3 separate regions of the Homo sapiens genome follow, and all the other regions are linked to region 3. Evidence: promoter capture Hi-C in 16 types of primary human blood cells and fetal thymus (Javierre and others, 2016). All regions are on one chromosome and are shown on one strand. Each heading gives the region's core, a stretch centred on a gene start or on the middle of the fragment in contact. The rest is flanking DNA. Distances are from core to core; before and after follow the strand shown. Region 1 has its middle 2.7 kb from the start of HACD3. Region 2 overlaps INTS14 (integrator complex subunit 14). Region 3 holds the start of RAB11A (RAB11A, member RAS oncogene family).

Region 1 (3,933 bases), core at 302-2,801, 340 kb after region 3:
GATCTCGGCTCACCGCAACCTCTGTCTCCCGGGTTCAAGTGATTCTCCTGCCTCAGCCTCCCGAGTAGCTGGGATTACAGGCATGCGCCACCGGCTAATTTTGTATTTTTAGTAGAGACGAGGTTTCTCCATGTTGGTCAGGCTGGTCTCGAACTCCCGACCTCAGGTGATCCGCCCGCCTTGGCCTCCCAAAGTGCTGAGATTATAGGCGTGAGACACCGCGCCCGGCCAACTTTATTCACTTCTAATTTAAACTTAAATATCCATATTTTTGGTGGCTATTCTATTGGACAGTGCAGGAGACTGTCTCAAAAAAATAGGAAACTCAAACTAGAGACAACACTCATTTATGTCTTACTTAAGCTGTCTTGTCTGTATCGGGTTTCATCCCCAAGTTCTTCTGCAGAGAAGAATTTAATGGGAAGAAATATTTATATGAAAACTAGAACTCTGGGACAAAAATGGAACTCATATTCAATCCTGTTAGCTCCCATTTATTTAGCAAAGTGATTCTATTAGCACCCGTTTGTTTAGCAGAGGGATCTAACGCTGAAAACAAATTCTGCTAGCTCTCTGGAAACATTTAGCTCAAGAGTGGACAGAATAAAATATAGAGAGTTTTCATATAATGAATGTGCTGAGCTCACAAAGAGTTTATGATGATAGGAACTGAGGGCCGTGGGAACCATTGTCAGACATTTGAGAGCCAACCCTTGAGAACGGGATGGTGAAATGCGAGTAGGAATTTGACTGAGTAAGAACCAGGTAGGCCGTGGAAGCACAGGGCGCTTGCTTCGTTCACAGGTGAAAAGATGTGGACCAGGTGCAGCGTCTCACGCGTGTAATCCCAGCACTTTGGGAGGACGAGGCGGGAGGATCGCTGGAGCCCAGGAGTTTGAGACCAGCCTGGGAAAAATGGCAATACACTGTCTCTACAAAAAATACAACAGTTAGCAGGGCGTGGTTGGCGCGCCCCTGGGGTCCGAGCTACTCGGGAGGCTAGGGTGGGAGAATTGCTTAAGCCCAGGAGGCGAGATCGCGCCACTGCACTCCAGCTTGGGTGACAGTGTGAGGCCCTGTCTTAAAATTTAAAAAAGAGAGAGGGTTGTGGAAGGAGGTTCTGCTGCTAGGGATTAAAGGCATAGAGGAGAGAGGTCGCCCTGAATCTGGAAAGGCAGAGGGTGCATTAGGAAAGTCTTTGTTTGCTTCACTGAGGTGCCTATACTGTATCCCACAGACACATGGGAGCCAAGGAAGTTTGTTAACCTGGAGATTAGTAAAATCAAATGTGCTCAGCAAGAAAGACCTGTCAGAGAGGAGGAGGAATTGGTAGTAGGCAAAGCAATGGGAGACCAATGCAATCTGCCAAGAATGAGTTGATGAAAGCAGTGACGTTGACAGTCTTGAATTTTAACGATAAAATATTTTTTATGATAAAGGTATTTTATTGTATTGTGTTTACTACAATGCAGATGCAATATGGGGCACTTTTTAAAAACATTGAGATGTAGTTTACATATAGAACATGGGTAAATCTTAAATATTCAGTTTAAGCTGAATTTTTCTATATGTATATATCCATGTAATTATCACCTAGATCAAGATCTGGAATATTTCCAGTATCCCAGAGGTTATTTCATGTTAAAATATCTTTGCCTCTCAGTAATTACTATCCTGATATATCACCATAGAGTCTTTTTTGTCTGTTCTGTTCTTGAATTTTATATAAATGGAACCTACAGTGTCTGGTTTCTTTTTCTTTTTTCTTTTTTTTTTTTTTGAGACAGAGTCTTGCTCTGTCACCCAGGATGGAGTGCAGTGGTGCAGTCTCGGCTCACTGCAACCTCGGCCTCCCAATTCAAGCGATTCTCCTGCCTCAGCCTCCCAAGTAGCTGGGATTACAGCTGTCCGCCATCACGCCCAGCTAATTTTTGTATTTTTAGTAGAGACGGGGTTTCACCATGTTGGTCAGGATGGTCTCTAACTCCTGACCTCGTGATCTGCCTGCCTCAGCCTCCCAAAGTGCTGGGATTACAGGCATGAGCCACCGTGCCTGGCCCCTAATTTTTGTATTTTAGTAGATACGGGGTTTCACCATCTTGGCCAGGCTAGTCTTGAACTCCTGACCTCATGATCCACCCGCTTCAGCCTCCCAAAGTGCTGGGATTACAGATGTGAGCCACCGCACCGGGCCTTGGTTTCTTTCATCAACATAATGTGTATGAGATTTATCCATGTTGCTGAGTGAATCAGTAATTCATTCTTTTAGTTTTTGGTTTTGCTCTGTAGTAGTTGACTATATGAGTATACCACAAATTATTTATCCATTCTCCTATCGATGGATATTTGTGTTGTTTCTAGTTTTTAGCTATTACAAATAAAGCTGCTCTGAATATTTGTGTACCTGTCTTTTGGGGATAAATGCTCTTAATTATCTTGGAATAAATACCTATGAAGGGAATTGCTAGGTTACACAGGTGTATGATTAGCTTTAGTAGGTGTGCTAAGCAGTTTTACAAAGTGTTTTGGTCAATTTACATTCCACGGCAATGTTTGAAAGTTCTAGTTGCTCTATATCCCTAGTATTTTCAGACTTTTTAATTTAATTTTATTTTATTTTATTTTATTTTATTTTTTGAGAAAGAGTCTTGCTCTGTTGCCCAGGCTGGAGTGCATTGGCGCGATCTCAGCTCACTGCAACTTCTACCTCCGCAGTTCAAATGATTCTCCTACCTCAGCCTCCCAAGTAGCTGGGATTATAGGTGTGCACCACCACACCTGGCTAATTTTTTTATTTTTAGTAGAGATGGGGTTTCACCATGTTGGCCATGCTGGTCTCAAACTTCTAGGCTCAAATGGTCTCAAACTCCTGGGCTCAAGTGATCCTCCTGCTGCAGCCTCCCAGGCGTGAGCCACAGCACCCAGCCTAATTTTTTTTTTCCAGCACCACCCCCACCCCCAGCCAATGTTTTTAATTTTAGCCATCCTGGTAGGTGGGTAATAAAAAATAGAATAATTTTAATTCAGCGTATTTGAAACCTGAGGCTTATCAGCTGACTTCTACCAAGGTGAAAGCTATTGATATAGAAGAAGACTGAATGTTGGCATTTTGCCTCAGATGCTTCATAAGAAAGGTCCAGTGGAAGTGGGCCTATCCAGCCTGGTTTGACCACTAGTAACATACTGCAAAATGACTTCTTTAGGCCTGAGTTTCCACATTCATCAAATTAGGTAAATTTGATGAGTTGGATTTGGTTCCCTCTAATGCTCTTATCAGCTGTTTCTAAATTTTTCTGCAAAGAGACCCCACTATTATGGACCCCTCTCTGCAAGAGAAATCTAACAAGAAAAAAAATAGAAATGGAGAGAAGAAAGAGTATCATTCTGGTGAACTATAAAACTCCAGGGTGGGGCTGGACATGGTGGCTTATGCTGTAATCCCAATGCTTTGGGAGGCTGAGGTGGGAGGATCGCTTGAGTTTAAGAGTTCGAGACCAGCCTGGGCAAAACAGTGAGACCCCATCTCTATAAAAAATTTTAAAAATTAGCCAGGTACGGTGGCATGTGCCTGTAGTCCTAGCTACTAAGGAGGCTGGGAGGATCTCTTAAGCTTGGAAGGTCAGAGATGCAGTGAACTGTGATGGCACCGATGCACTCCAGCCTGGACAACAGAGCAAAACCTTGTCTCAAAAAAAAAAAAGCAAACCAAAATACGCTGGAAGGTGGCAGGGGAGATTAAAAGGCAGAGCCAAGTGGCAGTGCCAAGCTGAAATAGGTAGGGCTAAGAGTTTTATGATACTATCGGTCAAATGAAAATGCAAATTTAGCCTTGTCTTTTTGTCCTACCTTCTAGATGCAGCCTTCCCAGCCTCATTTGGCCAAGGGCCAGCTCTCCCTTCTCAGAGAATAGTCACCACTAACTACAGGAAGCAT
Region 2 (3,744 bases), core at 507-3,006, 290 kb after region 3:
AACCACATCCTGCCAAGGCTAAAGTGTCAGGGGCCTCTTTGTTGGAAAATCAGGGTCTTCTATTTTCCTGATATCCCTGACCCCAGTGCTTCCTTGTCAGAGGGATATTAGAACCACTTTCACCACCAGTTATAGCTGAGCTTTTCTTAAATTATTTTTTTTAATTTTTTTTGTTTGAATCTTCACTACTATCTTGGGTTTATTTTTCTTATTCTGGTAAAATATACATAAAATGTACCTTCAACCATTTTAAAGTACACAATTCAGTCCCATTTAGTACATTCACAATGTACCATCACCACTCTCTAGTTCCAGAACATTTTAATCACTCCAAAAGGAAACCCTGTGCCCATTAGGAAAGTCACTCCACATTCCTTCTTCCGGGCCCTGGCAACCATTGATTTTCTTTCTGTCTCTATGGACTTACCTATTCTAGATATTTCATGTAAACAGAATCATACAATTTGTGGCCTTTTGTGTTTGACTTCTTGTACTTAGCATGATGTTTTCAAGGTTTATTCATGTTGTAGTATGTATCAGTACTTCATTCCTTTTTATGGCTAATATTCCATATGTCTATATGTATATGTCACATTTTGATTATCCCTCAGTTGACGGACATTAGGGTTACCTTTTGGCTATTGTGGATAATGCTGTTACAAACATTCATGTATAAGTTTTGGTCTGAACATTTGTTTTCAATACTCTTGGGTATATATTTTAATGGGAATGGGATTGCTGGGTCAGACAGCAATTCTCTTTAACTTACTGAGGAATTGCCACACTCTCTCACAGCAGCCACACCATTTTACATTTCTGCTAGCAGTGTATAAGTGTTCTAGTTTCTCCACGTTCCTACCAATACTCATTGTTTTCCTTTTATTATTATTATCATATAGCTATCATAGTAGGTGTGAAGTGGTATGTCTTTGTTTTTGCATTTCCTTGATGACCAATAATGTGCATCTTTTCCTGTGCTTATTGGCCATTTGTGTATATTATTTGGAGAAGTATATACTCAAGTTCTTTGTCCATTTTTTAATTGGGTTTGTCTTTTTGTTGTTGGGTTTTTTATATATTCTGGATATTATGATCCTTAGCAGATACATGATTTGCAAATATCTTCTCCCATTTTGTGAGTTATCTTTTCACTCTCTTTATAGTGTCCTTTGATACACAAAGTTTTTGGTTTTGAAGAAGTCAAATTTTGTCTCTTGCTTTTGTTGTTTGTGCTTTGTGCTGTCTTAACTAAGAGATCATTGCCAAATCCAAAGTCATAAAGATTTACCCGCTGTGTTTTCTTTTTCTTCTTCTCTTTTTCTCTTGAGAAACACATCTCACTACGTTGCCCAGGCTGGTCTCAAACTTCTGGCCTCAAGCAATCCTCCTGAGTAGCTAGGATTACAGGGGCACACCACTGCACCTGGCCCGTTTTTTTCTAAGAGTTTTATAGTTTTAGCTTTTACATGTAGGTCTCTGATCCATTTTGAGTTAGTTTTTTGTATATGGTATGATGTAAGGGTCCAACTTTATTCTTTTGCTTGTGGATATCCAGTTGTCTCAGCACCAAATGTTGAAGAGACTATTTTTTCCCCATTGAATCGTCTTTGCAAAAAAGTCCCTGGCAATAGATGTATGGGTTTACTGGGTACATTTTTATGAGGCAAGTTCGTTTCTGTCAGGGGATTTATTTTACTGTCAAGCCTTTTGAAGGAGGGAGTGCTTTACTAATGTTGAACTGACATTAACTCAGAAGGGATCCTCATCTTGACATTGTAGCTGTGTTCTCATTTTCATCTCTTTAAACATTTAGATCCATTCTTTTATATTATTTCCCTTTTTTACCACAGAATTCTAATGTTGGATTTTTTTTTTTACCCTTAATAGACAGATGTACAGAAGATTTTAAGAAATGCAAGGAAACTACCTGAAAAAACACAGACATTCTATAAGGTGAGACAGACAGAAGAGGATGTGCCCAAAATATATGGTTCACGACAGTAAAACTGTGAGATGGCAGTGTGAATATGGGCAGGGGTTAGAGATGTATGACTTGTGCCTCAGTTTTTTCAAATAAACTCAGTAAAAGTGATAGGTCTGTTCCTTCCCTAAAATCCAAGAATTGGAAGAATTTAAATGGCCTAATTCTGTACAGGCAGAAGGTTTTTCTGTGTTGGGGCTGCTGTGAATGAATGACTGATGGAAGCAGCTTAGAGGACCTGTGGGTCATAGCCCTGAACTCTCCTCATCACTCCTATATGGGTATCCAGGCCAACCCCAGGCAACCAATGTATGTGGCTTCCTGGATGGGGAATTGCCCAGAACATTCTTTTTTTTTTTTTTTTTTTTTTTTTTTTTTGAGATGGAGTCACACTCTGTTGCCCAGGCTGGAGTGTCGTGGTGCAATCTTGGGTCACTGCAACCTCTGCCTCACAGGTTCAAGTGATTCTCCTGCCTCAGCCTCCTGAGTAGCTAGTACTACAGGCACGTGCCACCACGCCCAGCTAATTTTTGTTTTTTTGTTTTTGAGACAGAGTCTCACTCTGTCGGCCAGGCTGGAGTGCAGTAGCACGATCTCAGCTCACTGCAACCTCCGCCTCGCGGGCTCAAACAATTCTCCTGCCTCAGCCTCCCAAGTAGCTGGGATTACAGGTGTGTGCCACCATGCCCGGCTAATTTTTGTATTTTTAGTAGAGACGGGGTTTCACCATGTTGGCCAGGCTGGTCTTGAACTCCTGACCACAGGTAATCCGCTCGCCTCGGCCTCCCAAAGTGCTGGGATTACAGGCGTGAGCCACCGTTCCCGGCCTAATTTTTGTATTTTCAGTAGAGATGGGGTTTCGCTGTGTTGGCCAGGCTGGTCCCGAACTCCTGACCTCAGGTGATCCACCCAAAGTGCTGGGATTACAAGCGTGAGCCACCCCACCTGGCCACCCCAGAACATTTTTATTGCACCAGAGACTCTGCTTCTAGGAATGATATCTAACATTACACATTTATGAATTGCAGAGGAGATAGCCCTGCAGAATCATATGCAGCTAATCCAGAACGATTGGTGAAGAGACTGTTAAGTTACAGGGGGTGGGGTAGAGTGGGGAACATTTAGGTTTGCTCCTTGATTCTCCCCTATTGTTCTGGTGTTTGGCTGGAATTAAATTAAGTGCAGCATAAAGTATGTCATTTGTGTCTTAGCTTTCTAATTCTAAAATGTGGCACACACAGCCAGCCTTAGGCTAGCATCTTAACCAGAGAAGATACATGCTACTTTGTCTGGGTGTTATCTCATTACCTTTATGTCACTGTTGTCTTCAAACTTAATTATGTAGTAAGCTGGTGAAATAAAACAGCTTTAATCAAGAGTTCAACTGGAGAGCTTCTTAGCCAGCCAGGCCCCTCCCTAAACTGAAGCCCATAATCCACACAGTCCATCCTCCCTGCAGAGCTTCCTACAGTCATCAGCTATTTACTCATGATGACACACTTGTTTGGCCTTCTTCTTAACTTTCCACTTTTTTAACAGATGATAGTAGAAAGATGGTCAGAGAGCCCATTTCTCTTTTCTGGTTTTATATAATGCTACATATTAGAGCTCAAAAGGGCCTAGGGAAAGTGCTTCAGCCTCTGCAGTGGGTAAGGAAGGGGTTATTCTCCTCATTTTATAAATGAGGCCTTTGAGACCCAGAGAGGCTATATAACTTGCCCAGACCACTCCACTAAGGGGTTGTTGGGGCACTTCATATTTCT
Region 3 (3,684 bases), core at 1,092-3,591:
TCTCACAATCTTAAGAGGCAGGTATTTTCCTTTTTATAAAGTAGAGAACTGAGACTCAGAAAAGTTAACTTTTCCAAGGTCATAAAGTAAATATAAGACCTGAGTCAGGATCTAAACCGAGGTCTACGTGATTCCAAAGCTCAGTGCTCTCAATTGTTGCTAGAAGGATGGTCTAATCAAAAAGTTAAAATACTTTAGGCCAATTCAGAATATTTAATATTCTTTGTTAAAAAATAAAAGGACCTTGTATAACCAACATTCAAGTTCAAACCAAACAGGAGAAATACCCTGACGGTCTATCTTGTTCTGAATTAATTACTTCAAAGACAACCTTTATAAAAGCACACTACCATTATACCATATTTCAAAACACAAACCTAACCTTTAACCCCAAAGTCTCAAGAGATTCAAATAGTTTCACATCATCTCAGATACCTTCGGCAAAAGGTATGCTGTCATATACTTTTTGTAATCCAGGCCTCAGTTTTGTATTTGTAAAATGAACTAAGTACCCTGAAAGTACTTTCCAGTATGGAGGGGGAGGGTGGATACCAAAAGTATTCACCCTATACAGTAGAATATTCTGAGTCAGAGGAGTAAGAGATGATAAGAGTATAACAGCAGACTAGTTAGTATAACAAGATTTGCAAAGTATTGGGAAAGCAAAGAAATCTTTCCTGCTTGGTTTAGTCAATCATTCTTAGCACCCAATGGCAAAGACAGAAACAGTCACCATGCTTAACACTCTTGAAACTCCACCCTCCACAGTAAAGCTTTAATAGCAATGGCTTCTTCCTCAGTGGTAATGATCTTTGTTCGGCACACTACTGATGGCTACCTTCCCAATTCAGGAGCAGAGAAAGAGCATCAGAGTGAGAGTGCATTCACTGAACAAAAAAAGCATCTACTGTACTCTCTTCTCATTGAAAAATGTACCCTTTATCTTCGTTGATTAAAAAAAAAAACCGGATTCCTTCCGGACTCAACCAATAAGCAATTCTTTCTAACCAACCCTGACCCTCCAATATGTTCTGTCCAAGGGCACTACATGTTTCCGTATCTTATAATAAATATTTAATGTAACCAAAAGAGCACACAACTTCCTCCCACCCCCAACCTTTTGGGAAAGGTATGTGGCTAACTAGGGCTCTTCCCTTCCTGTTGGATCCTCCCAGCGTTGCAGCAGGAAGCAACCAGTTCATAGAGATAAAGCAAGCTAGTATTTGTGCAGCGCACAACCTTTCCTGCTCAGGAACCAGGCCTTCAGGTCTGGCAAGGATAACAGCCACCACCCATCCGCAACCTCATCTCGCGAACCGAGTAAAGAGTTATCCCGGGTTGGGTGCCACTGAGTAGGGAGGGCAAGAAAAGAAAAGGCTAGGTGGGAAGTAATGTCAGCCTGCCGGGTCACTGCGACAAGTGCGCGAGTGGGTGATGGGCGATCCCTCTTACCCTCCCTCCCACCACCCAGGTCGCAACGGAGACAAGGGAGCTCTAAACACGATTTGGGGAGGGAAGGTAGAGAGAGTTGCCAAATGGGGAGTGGGAGAGGGAGCGGTCAGAGAAGGTTAAGGACCGCGAGAACCGCGGGGCGGAGGGTGGGGGCGGAGGCCCTTGGCCCGCTCAGATTTTACGGGGTCCTGGACCCGGGATGGGAGAAGCTTAGAGGGGCGGCCGTCCAAGTGGAGGGGAGATACAGAAGAGACGCTCGCTCGAGGGGGGAAAGAGGGCAGATAAGAAAAAGACCTGTAATGGGAGTCTGCACCGAAGGCAAGGCCAAGAGGGAAGCGAAGAACCCGTCAGAGGGGCTTCGGGAGAGGACGCGAGCTGGGAAGGGTGTACGCCGAGGGGGAGGGGGCGCTACACCCGAAAAGAGAGATGGTGGGAGGAGCGGCGGGGCCGTAGAACCCGGGGAAAGGAATTCGACGATGTGGGAGAAGGCAGTCCGCCAGGGGAAGGACACGCAGGGAGGGGCTCTGAGGCCAGCGAAGGCCTATGGAGAGGTCGCTCAGAGAGCGGCATGTGATGGGGACCCCTGTCTGAGCGGGGGAGAAGAGGCTGAGCTGGGTAGGAGACGGAACCGCACAAAAAGGAAGGGCTGAGGGAGGCCTATATCAGTGCAGGGGTGGCCGGCACGAGGGTCCACCGGGAGTGGCCCGGGTCCCCGAACGAGGACTGTGTAGAGTGCGAGAGCCCATGGCCTCACCTTTAAAGAGGTAGTCGTACTCGTCGTCGCGGGTGCCCATTGCGCGGCCGAGGAGCGAAAGGGCGGGAGCAGCAGTGGTATCTGTGGGACCAGGGGGCGTCGCTGCAGGGGTAACCCGAGCGCCGAGCTTCAACTGCCGGACTGGGTGAAGAGCCCCTCCCTGCCGCTGCGCCATTTCCGGCAGGCCCCAGCCTTTAAGGGGAAGTACTTCCGGGGGCGGCGCCCCGCCCCTGAGCCCAACAAGGGCGGTGTGCGCGAGAGTCGAGATGCGTGGGGCTTCAAGCTTTAGTCGCTAAAGGAGGCTCAAAGGGGAAACTGAGTCCTGGAACTCCTAGCTACCATAGTCTTAGTGGCCGCTTGCTCATTTCTCGAGCTACCGTGCCGGAAGCGGCTCGCTGGAACCAGGCGGGACCGCCTGTGAGTGGTGGGTTTGTGGATGGGGGCGGGGTTCTCTGAGGATTAGACAGCCGAAGGCAGCTACACATGCGTGGCGGTTCCATGGTGTAATGGTTAGCACTCTGGACTCTGAATCCAGCGATCCGAGTTCAAATCTCGGTGGAACCTGCATTGGTTTTTGTTTTTTTAATCTTGACAACATCTTTAATTCACTTTTTTGGTCACTAAGTAATTGAACAACTATGACACATCTTAAGATGGAGATGTAAAATTTAATCCTTGCCTATGAAGACCTCACAAATTTCCCACTGCATTTCAGGTGCTATCTGCTACCTGGCGGGGGGTTGTCTTAATGAGCTTCTTCACTGCCTTTTTTTTAACCCTGGGCTTTCAAGCCTTGATTCAAAAGCTTCAGTGAAACTTGAAAATTCCTTTTGCTGGAATTTTCTACCTCCAGCTTCATGCACGGGTAGGCGCTTGTCACTCACTCCTCTCCGGAAATCTCGCAATCTATCTCATTTTCATTTAGAGTACTTCGCCCACCCTCCTCATCAAGATTCATCAAGAACTTGAGTCCTATTTGTAGGCCTCTAATCTAAGTCCGTTTACATAAGTATTTCATTTAACATGCCAAGCAAAGGATGGTAATTTCCATTTTAGCGGAAGTTTGGATACTAAGACTCAAGTGATTTGCCAGATATCATGTCGCAGGGCCTCCCTGTATTTGAAGAGAATTTTGTCATTCCAGAAAAGCCTTTATCCAATTATTGTCACACCTCCTACCTCCTATATGCAAACTCTCGATTTAGACTTGTGGGCAAGTATGCCTATAACAAGCAGAATAATGCCCCCTGCCAATGATGTCCACTTCCCAATTCCTGGAGACTGAATAGGTTAGGTTACATGGCAAAGGGGAATTGAGGTTACAGATGAAATTAAGGTTGCTTATCAGCTGACATTAAATTAGGGATATTATCCTGGATTAGTTGGGTGGGCCCAGTGTTGTCATAAGGTCCTTAAAAGTAGAAAATGGGCTGGGCACGGTGGCTCAGGCCTTAATTCCAGCACTTTGGGAGGCCAAG

Evidence for each region. The method cuts DNA at HindIII sites, captures the fragments that hold promoters and counts their contacts. A CHiCAGO score of 5 or more calls a contact.
Region 1: a contact is called between a fragment that was not itself captured here and the fragment with the promoter of RAB11A in region 3, in 2 of 17 cell types (fetal thymus and total CD8 T cells). The highest score is 10.0, in fetal thymus.
Region 2: a fragment that was not itself captured here is called in contact with the fragment with the promoter of RAB11A in region 3 in 3 of 17 cell types (fetal thymus, endothelial precursors and total CD8 T cells); the score reaches 6.8 in fetal thymus.

Annotation. Positions count from the first base shown.
Region 1 is chr15:65,525,834-65,529,766 of GRCh38, reverse strand. No RefSeq gene overlaps it. Among named protein-coding and RNA genes, the nearest start is that of HACD3, 2.7 kb to the left of the region's middle. RefSeq lists an enhancer at 480-980. The HindIII fragment of the contact is 4,122 bases long and covers 1-3,612 here.
Region 2 is chr15:65,580,163-65,583,906 of GRCh38, reverse strand. INTS14 (integrator complex subunit 14) reads left to right here. Exons shown (of 12, transcript NM_001394796.1): 11 at 1,888-1,953. Among named protein-coding and RNA genes, the nearest start is that of INTS14, 29 kb to the left of the region's middle. The HindIII fragment of the contact is 5,930 bases long and covers 1-3,744 here.
Region 3 is chr15:65,868,148-65,871,831 of GRCh38, reverse strand. It overlaps RAB11A (RAB11A, member RAS oncogene family), which reads right to left and starts at 2,341. Exons shown (of 5, transcript NM_004663.5): 1 at 2,207-2,341. The coding sequence starts at 2,246. TRQ-CTG1-4 (tRNA-Gln (anticodon CTG) 1-4) reads left to right here and starts at 2,699; the gene lies at 2,699-2,770. RefSeq lists an enhancer at 2,468-2,527. The HindIII fragment of the contact is 828 bases long and covers 1,664-2,491 here.